2 separate regions of the Homo sapiens genome follow, and region 1 is linked to region 2. Evidence: promoter capture Hi-C in 16 types of primary human blood cells and fetal thymus (Javierre and others, 2016). All regions are on one chromosome and are shown on one strand. The core of a region is centred on a gene start or on the middle of the fragment in contact, and the rest is flanking DNA. Distances in the headings are between cores, read along the strand shown. Region 1 has its middle 31 kb from the start of LINC02131. Region 2 holds the start of ADAMTS18 (ADAM metallopeptidase with thrombospondin type 1 motif 18).

Region 1 (4,240 bases), core at 519-3,018, 120 kb after region 2:
CAATGAACTTTTTCCTTTTGATTCAGGTCATCAAACTTTGCAAAATATAGGAGAAAGAAAATCTAATTACTTTGAAGATGCTCTGTGAATTAACTAGGGAGGGTTTGGACCATGAGAGGTTCATCTTCTGATGAGCAAGAACCATGGAGAGCAGCCTGGATGGCCGACTGGACAAAGAAAGACCCAGATTAGAGTCTCAGCAACTGTGCTGTGTGACCCTGTGCAAGTTACTAAACTTCTCTGAGCCACAAGGGCTTTATCTGTAGAAAAGATATATTAATACTTCTTTGAAAGTTTGTGCTGGAGATTGGAATACGTCAACAAACTGTTAGCACAGGTCTTCATGTAGGTCATCATACAAATGTTCAAAAAAGGTAGAAATTTTTCTCCTGGGTAATGCATCTGAAAATTCAGACAGCATTGTCTACTCTTTCTCCTGACAATCTAGGTTGAATTGCATGGATGGAGATGATTCACATCAATATTGTCATCCCAAAGAAGCTATTTCTTCTTGCTATCTCATCCCATAAAAAGCCCTGATTCCTGTCTTTGCTACTGTCTGATTGTCCCATTCTTCCTTCGATCCTACAAGCAAGACTACATGTTTCTACTAAATTTCTTTTTGCTAATTACTCAGAGAAGTAGCTTGCATCTAAAAATCTTTAACAGATTCAGTTAATATTGTTAACATTATGAGCAGTGTTTGTATCCCTAATTGCTATTATTAACATTATTATGTATTCTTTTTATACTTAGTGGTAGTAGTGTTAACATCTTTCTTAGTGCTGTGAAAGTCTTAACTGGGCCCTAAGTTTGGGGTTGATAGAGAATGGGATTGGGGCAGGCATGGTGGCTCACGTGTGTAATCCCAGTACTTTGGGAGGCCAAGGCAGGCGAATCACTTGAGGTCAGGAGTTCAAGATCAGCCTTACACAGCAAATCCCCATCTCTACTAAAAATACAAAAATTAGCTGGGTGAGGTGATGCACGCCTGTAGTTCCAGCTATCTGGGAGAGTGAGCCATAAGAATCACTTGAACCCAGGAGGGGGAGGTTGCAGTGAGCCGAGATCATGCCACTGCACTCCAGCCTGGGCAACAAAGCAAGATTCTGTCTCAGAAAGATAATGGGATTGTACATGTATTAATAGATACTAGATTTTCTCACAAATTCTTGATAGTTGAGAAAATACCATATGCTTTGTGTGAAATGCACAAGACACTTCACCAAGATCTTGGCCTAGAGAAGGAGAGAAGCTTCAACTATTTTCTTAGCATGAACAACAGTTGCTGAGGTATTTCTGGACTTTGGATGCCCATCTTAGAAGGATATAAACGGGAACTCAAACCCCAGAGATGCAAGGGTGCTAAGCCTGGAAGGGGCTGTGGAGATCAATTAAATATCCCGTTTTCTGAAACAGGAGTTGCCACAGTCTCCACTCCATGCCAACATTTGATTACATTGCATCCTACTGCTGTGCAAAGTTTCTTGGAAGTTATTATAGTAGAATAAACACAAACATACATGGATTTTTGTGGTCTCTTGTTTATCCTTAAGAAATTTCCTTCTTAAAAACAGCTGGCTTGGGTCCCATCTCCTGTTGTTCAGAGTTGACTCCAATACATTTTACAGATGGGAACACTGAGGCCCAGATAGTGGAGATTTTTGACCAGGCTCACATAGTGAGCAAGTGTCAGGGACAACCCTGGAATCACGTCTCCCTCCTACTTTCTCAACACAGAGAAAGTAGAAAGAAAAGAAAAAGTTATGGTGGCTTTGGTTTTCTTTTGTTTTAAATGCAGTGTTATTTTTCCCCCACGGATATACTCTTGGGGTTTTTTGTTGTTGTTATTGTTGTTGTTCTTTTGGAGATGGAGTCTTGCTCTGTCGTCCAGGCTGGAGTGCACTGGTGCAATCTCAGATCACTGCAACCTCCACCTCCCAGGTTCAAATGATTCTCCTGCCTCAGCCTCCTGCGTAGCTGAGATTATAGGTGCACACCACCACGCCTCGCTAATTTTTAAAATATTTTTAGTAGAGACAGAGTTTCACCACATTGGCCAGGATGGTCTCTAACTCCTTACCTCAGGCGATCTGCGTGCCTCAGCCTCGCAAAGTGCTGGGATTACAGATGTGAGCCACCGCACTCAGCTTATTCTTGGGTTTTGGGATCTGCAATTCTGAGAAGGTAGATTCATACTGTGAGTTTTGTTTTTCTCCAGAATGTGGCTCTCTCCAATCAAATCCCCACCCATGAATGAGGAAGGCATGGATGGGACAGCCCAAGCTTAATGCAAACTGAAACTACCTCCTGTTTATCTAGCCCTGATGGTTTGTTAGGCATATTTGAAGATTCTGTCACTTATAAAAGTCGTGAAATGAATTTTGGTAGTAGAAATCTACATATTTTTCTTTTAATTGTTAAATATTGAGAATAACTCCTGGTAGCACACTGATCTATTTCCTTTATGCTTTTTTATATTTTTATTTTCCTCACACCCCACCCCACCATGATAAAGAGTCTTGCCCTGTAGCCCAGGCTGAAGTGCAGTGGTGCAATCCCGGCTCACTGCAACCTCTACCTCCCAGGTTCAAGCAATTCTCCTGCCTAGGCCTCCTAAGTAGCTGGGATTACAGGGGCGTGCGCCACCACACTCCGCTGATTTTGTATGTTTTAGTAGAGATGGGTTTTTGCCATGTTGGCCAGGCTGGTCTCCAACTCCTGACCCCAGGTGATCCGCATGCCTTGGCCTCCCAAAGTGCTGGGATTACAGGCATGAGCCACCGCACCCGACCCTTTATGCTTTATTATGTGCATTTGAAATCACTTTCATTGTATGCAAACATTTTCTCTTAAATTTTGCATTTAATAATTCCTAAGAACTTAGTAATGTTGTTATGAACTCTTCATATATGTCACTCAGGAGAGCTATGTAATTTTTGTCCACCAACAATCATTTAACTATCCCCTTGTTTTGGGTAATTTGGAACGTTTTCCCATGTTTTGCTGGTTAATAATAATATATCAATATGAGCATCTTTTTTGGTAACCCTTTAGCTAGCAGATGGATGAGATGGCATATCAGACTCCCCATTATGTTTGAATGTGACTAGTTTATTCTTGTCAGGCTTTAGGGAATTTCATTGAAGGAAAAAATCTTTGTCAATATTATAAAACATATAGCTTACTTATGTTTACTTATGAAGTTGAATTTGGGTCCACGTTTTTCAACCAGTTATATTTCTTCTTTGGTGAAATACCTTTATATTCCTTATGCCCTTCCATTTTCCAAGGTCCTTCTTTAATCCTCCTTCTCCTATTAGGGATTTAACATTGTTTACTCCACATAAAGTAATCCCTCTCCTTTCCTACAGCCTTGAATTCTGTGAAGATCAAAGACACATGGCAATGATTTATGTATGGCTATACTAAAGCACTTGGGTATGAAAATTCTCTCTCCAGCTAGAGAGGAAGCACCATGCTTTTCTCCTCATACACCGTACAGGTTCCATCATTGTTGAAGGGACAGGAGGAGAGATGGACAGGCCCAGTTCCCTCTGTCATCTCACCATAACGTGGTTGGGAATCACAGCAGAAAACAGTGACAGGAGACCTTGGCCTTTCATCTGAGTACCTGCTCCCCACTCTATAATTCTGCCTCAATTGACTCAGCTCCTTGTTTTCTCTCTACCTCACAAGCCATCATGGCACCTACACCATTTCTCTACAAACTATAGACAGGACAAAGCCAACCTTTGCACAGTACAGCGAAGGCTTTGTGGAGGTAGGATTAAGTCATTGATAAAAATCTAAGATGTACTTTTTAGATTAGCTAACTTTTAAATGATGCCAGATTTCCAACATAAAGGGCTATCCCGTGGTAAACCGCAGTTAAGAAAATATCACACTTAAAACAAAGCCGGAAGCTCATAAACTGATAACTCCAGCTGCCAGTATTTCCAACGACCTTGGGAGGTCTCAGGTACTGAAGAAATCCATGACTGAGGCTTTCTGCCACCATTTCTTTATGATACCTGACCAATAAGGAGAGGGTAATCTTATTTCCAGATTATGTTAATGAAAAAATGAGGATTAATACGCTAAGCTGCTCCTAGATGTGGAAAGAGTAATGATTCCAGCCAGTTGTTTTTAATTAATCTCTTGTGTTCTTGGCTTATCTGGTCCCAGAAAATGAAAGCCATGAATTTTACAATACGTGTGCCAGATCACATGTGTAATT
Region 2 (4,425 bases), core at 28-2,527:
GATGGGAAACAATCAAAACAAGGATTTCCCTCTGGGCTCCACTGGGAAGTTAATAAATGTCAGAAGTGAGGGATTTTCTGGAAGTTTGTGGCTGGCGAACGTCAGAAAAGATAGATAAAGGACTCAGAGACCTGAAGTCACCTGCTTTCCTCTCTCTAAAAGCAGCCTTAGACATCCGTAAAACAAGGGAAGCAGAAATGAAAAAAAAAGAAGAGATAGAAAAGGAACAGAAGTCGAGAGAAAAATGAGGAAAGATGGAGAGAGGAAAGAGGCTCACATTCTTTCATCTCCCACTAAGAATTAGCTTCCCCCAACAAGAGTTAGGAGAGGGAGGAAATAAGTAATTCCTTAGTTAATGTCCACTTCCCTTCGAATTTCTCACTGCAGTTAGGATTTTTTTTTTTTTCTTGTTCTTCTTAACAAGCCACCTGTGAAGGAGGGAGAGTATTTGCTTTTATGTGACTTGCAGCTCGGGGCGTTGATTCTTTTGATAAGTTCAGTCCTTGCCAACCTTCCCCCCTCTCCAAACAGGAACCATTTCCAAGACAGCGCACACCTGCCAGGTTAGGGGGTGCGCTTTTCCATCTTTTCTCTCTTTGGGGGAAGGAAGGGTCAAAGTGCTGCGAAAGGCCCTTCTTGGGGATGGGGGGCAAATACGAACCATCATTTAATCCGCTGGCGCCGCTGCTGCTGTCACTGGCTAAGGCCGCGGCGACCGACGCACAGCAGAGGCAGCACAGCTGGAGCGCCTGCAAGAGAAAAGGTGACATCGCGCGTGAGGGGCGCGGCGGGGCTGGCGTCGGGCGCCCCCTGCCACCCGCTCTCGGAGCTCCGCTCGGCGGCACCTGCCTTGGCCACGCGCCCCAGTCCCGCCAGGCCCCTCGGCGGGCCCGAACCCGCAGCCGGGAAGGCACACGCGAGCAGGAGGGCGCACTCCATGGTCAGGTGCGGACGCGGCGGCTGCGGGTGGCCAGACGCGGCAGGCGGAGCGCACGGGCGGCGCGCATTCTTTCCGCGGCCCCGGAGCTCGGCGCCCCAGGTGCGGCTCCAGGTGAGAGCCGCCGCCGTTCACATCGCAGCGGGGGCGCGCTGGGACCTCCCCTCCTCCGGCCGCCTGCGCGCCCTCCCTTCTCCCGGCGCGGGCCTGCCGAGCTGCAGTTTGCGGCACCCCAGAGGGTACGGGGGGCTCCCTGGGCCGGGACTGGAGCGCAAACGGTTGGGAGACTGTCGGTGTCTGCCCGCCCGTCTGTGCGTCTGTCTGTGTCGGTGTGAGCGTCTGAGGCGATGGGGAAGACAGCGCCAGCTGGCTCCCCCAGCGCGCCGGAGCCGAGCGCCCGCCTCTCCACCGCGCGGTGATTGGCGACCAGCGGCTCCCGGGCTCGTCCGAGCCCCCGGGCTGGTGCAAGGGCGTGGGATTCCCGGCTCCAGCTCTGAGGGAGGGGGCGAAGGGGGCGGGGAGGCTGGGTGGGAGTGATAGGGAGGGAGGGACCGACCGCCATGAGAAGGAGGGGAGCGCCCAGGGTCAGGCTTGGAAAACGTAATTTAAGCGCACTGGGAGATGAGTTCGGAAGACGAAAGGCTCAGGTGAGTGGCGCGACTTTTTCGCTGCCTGTGCAGACTTCTCATTTTCAACTCTTCTGGCAAAGAGTCAAGATAGCGTCCTCAACACCTCCTAAGTGCTGGGAGCTATCCCCTGCTGTATCGCATTTGCCTCAGGCCCTACCTTTTTCAGGTGGGAATTATTAATTCCTTGATAAAGATGAGGAAAAGGAGGCTCAGATGCGCACAAGCTGACCTAGCTTCCCAGAGTCAGCAAATCTGAGGCAGCCGGGAGGACCAGAACAATGAGCTGTCACTGTCTGCAGCATGTAAAAACTCATGGCACGCGGGGGCCTCCCTCTTCTCCCGGATCTCTCTCTCTCTTCTTGACGTGACCGTGCTTCCCACTCTTCGAGATTGAATCTTGGCCCCAGATACCCAAACCCACAGAAATCAGTTATAACAAACAGCGCACGCCATCACTAGGAATGTGCATCCAGTTTGCTGTGTGCCTGTTCGTTTACTCAAGACATTTATTTGATCCTTTGATCCCTGTTTGCAGAGGTGAACAAAATACAGTCTCACGGGCCAGTGGAAACGAATCTGATTGGATAGCTCGACAACGGTAATAGAAGCAAAATGAACACAAATACTAAAAAGGAAAAGAATAGTCTCCTAAATTAGATGGCAGCAGAATCTAATTTAGATGGGATAAGATGTGTGTGTGTGTGTGTGTGTGTGTGTGTGTGTGTGGGTGTATATATACACACACACATATATATACACACACACACGCATACATACACGTGCAAGGCATCTGTTAGGAGCTGACACTTAAAATAAGGCCAGAGAGAGTGGATCGGTTTTATAAGGGAAGAGGGGAGTAGGATCTTGCATGTTAGGACAGGGGGCACAGCATAAGTGAAGGTCTCAAGGTAGTTAAGTGATTGCCACGTGAAAAGTGTTACAGGCCAGAGGAAGAAGCAAACACAGCAGTTGCTGGGTCAGCTGGACCTTGTAAGCTGGGGCGAAGCATGTTGGAAACCATTAGATTTAAATGAATGTGGGTTTGTGTATGTGTAGGAGGCAACATCATATCCAATAATAAAAAAATGTGAACCATTTTTTGAGCGAGTGTAGGGATTGGACGAGCTGAGGCAGGGTCAGAGAGAAACAAACCACGCAGCTGTTGCTGGCATGAAGGGGTACAATGACAGTGTCTTGCTTGGACCAGGGTAGTGGTAGTGGAAGTAGATGTATTACTCTGCTCAGTCCTGTGGGTACTGAAGTAGTTAACATGAGGTCTATGTCAAGCCTCGATTAAGTGATAGCTCAATACACATAGTCGGTTTTATGGAATGCAGCTGGGAAGAGGTAAACCCAGGCTGTAGCGGCAGAGAAGGTGATGTGTCTGCCTAAGGAACATGAAGCTAAGCCTCACAGAACATCAGGGCTAAACAAATCATTTGGGTTTCCCTACTTAATCTGGTTAAGCTCTGTGGCCTCTGTTTTATAATCTGTAAAATAGGAATCAACATGCTACATCAAAAGGATAGCCTGAGGGGTAAGTGAATATATTTTTCAAAGCACATTATAAGTGGACTTTAAGAAGTGATGGTGTATTTCTGTTATTTCATACATCCTGTGTCAAACTTGAATATACGTCAAAATCACCTGTAATGCTAGCTTAAAAATGCAGATTTCCAGGCCATGAAGCACTGTGATTCTGATTCCATGGATTTGGTGTAGGGCCCAAGCATGCATTTGTAGTAAGCACTTGTGGGTGATTCAGACACAAGTGACTTAAGTGCTTCATATGATTCCATGAAGAACTGGACACAAGAGGAAACTGGACATCAAAGACATGCAGTAAAACACTGCTGGAGGTCACATCACCAAGCAACGGACTGAATAAAACAGGAGACTGGGATTGACAGCACTGTCAGCGACATCATCAGGTGAACACTGACGGAACCTGGAGGGTGAAGGGCTTGTCCACACTCAGCTAAAAATAACCATGGCCCTGATTTGTGTCTCTCCATTAAGATACATTTGCATGAAATTGTCCATATTTTTCTGATCCTCCTCTTTTAGGGCTAACAATATAGGTTACTTGCCATGGTCAGGGCTGAAGTCTCGGAGAACAACCCTTAACTATGCTCTATGCTCAATTGTGGAATTTCTCAATCTCAGCAGTACTGAGATTTGGGCTGGATAATCATTTGTGGTAGGGGCTATCATCCTGTACATTATAAACATAGGATGTTTAGCAGCATTTCTGGCCTCTACTTCACTAAATGCCAGTAGCAGCCCCCAAAATGCAACAAAATGTTGTGAGATTTCCAAATGTTTCCTGGTGGGTAAAATTCCCCTAGGTGAGAACCTGGATAAATAGTACAGATTCCCAGTCCTATTCTGTGACATTTTTTTGTTGAGTGCCCATTTTTTTTTGAGAGTCTAGAGGGCTCCTCTTGAACCTAATGTAAGTAGTTTATCCTTAACTGATTTTACAGCTCTTCTTCCATACCCCAGTCAATCTTTGCTCTCCACAGATTCAAGTCCTCCATGATTGGGCACAGAAACTGAGACTCATTTCTTGCATAGTTCTAGACCTGGAAGATAAAAACTTGCAGTTCCATTCATTTGTAGATGTCTAGTCTCTTTTTTAGGGCTGATAAATACTTGCAAAGCCATAACTTCTGGGATGATTTTATACGTAGTTTTCCAGGAACTGGCCCTGCAATATGTATAAATTGTCTCTAGATGGTGACAGAGAATCATGAGCCCATGCTCCAGTCTTGGAGTTATAAACTGCAAAGTAGCTTTTAAGTTACTTGGGAATGTCAGTCTTACCTGATTTTAAAATGATAAATCTAGGACACTACA

The links. The method cuts DNA at HindIII sites, captures the fragments that hold promoters and counts their contacts. A CHiCAGO score of 5 or more calls a contact.
Region 1: a contact is called between a fragment that was not itself captured here and the fragment with the promoter of ADAMTS18 in region 2, in 1 of 17 cell types (endothelial precursors). The highest score is 5.6, in endothelial precursors.

The regions. Positions count from the first base shown.
Region 1 is chr16:77,557,435-77,561,674 of GRCh38, forward strand. No RefSeq gene overlaps it. Among named protein-coding and RNA genes, the nearest start is that of LINC02131, 31 kb to the right of the region's middle. The HindIII fragment of the contact is 1,031 bases long and covers 1,254-2,284 here.
Region 2 is chr16:77,433,757-77,438,181 of GRCh38, forward strand. It overlaps ADAMTS18 (ADAM metallopeptidase with thrombospondin type 1 motif 18), which reads right to left and starts at 1,278. Exons shown (of 23, transcript NM_199355.4): 1 at 850-1,278; 2 at 662-749. The coding sequence starts at 939. RefSeq lists an enhancer at 974-1,474. The HindIII fragment of the contact is 7,514 bases long and covers 1-4,425 here.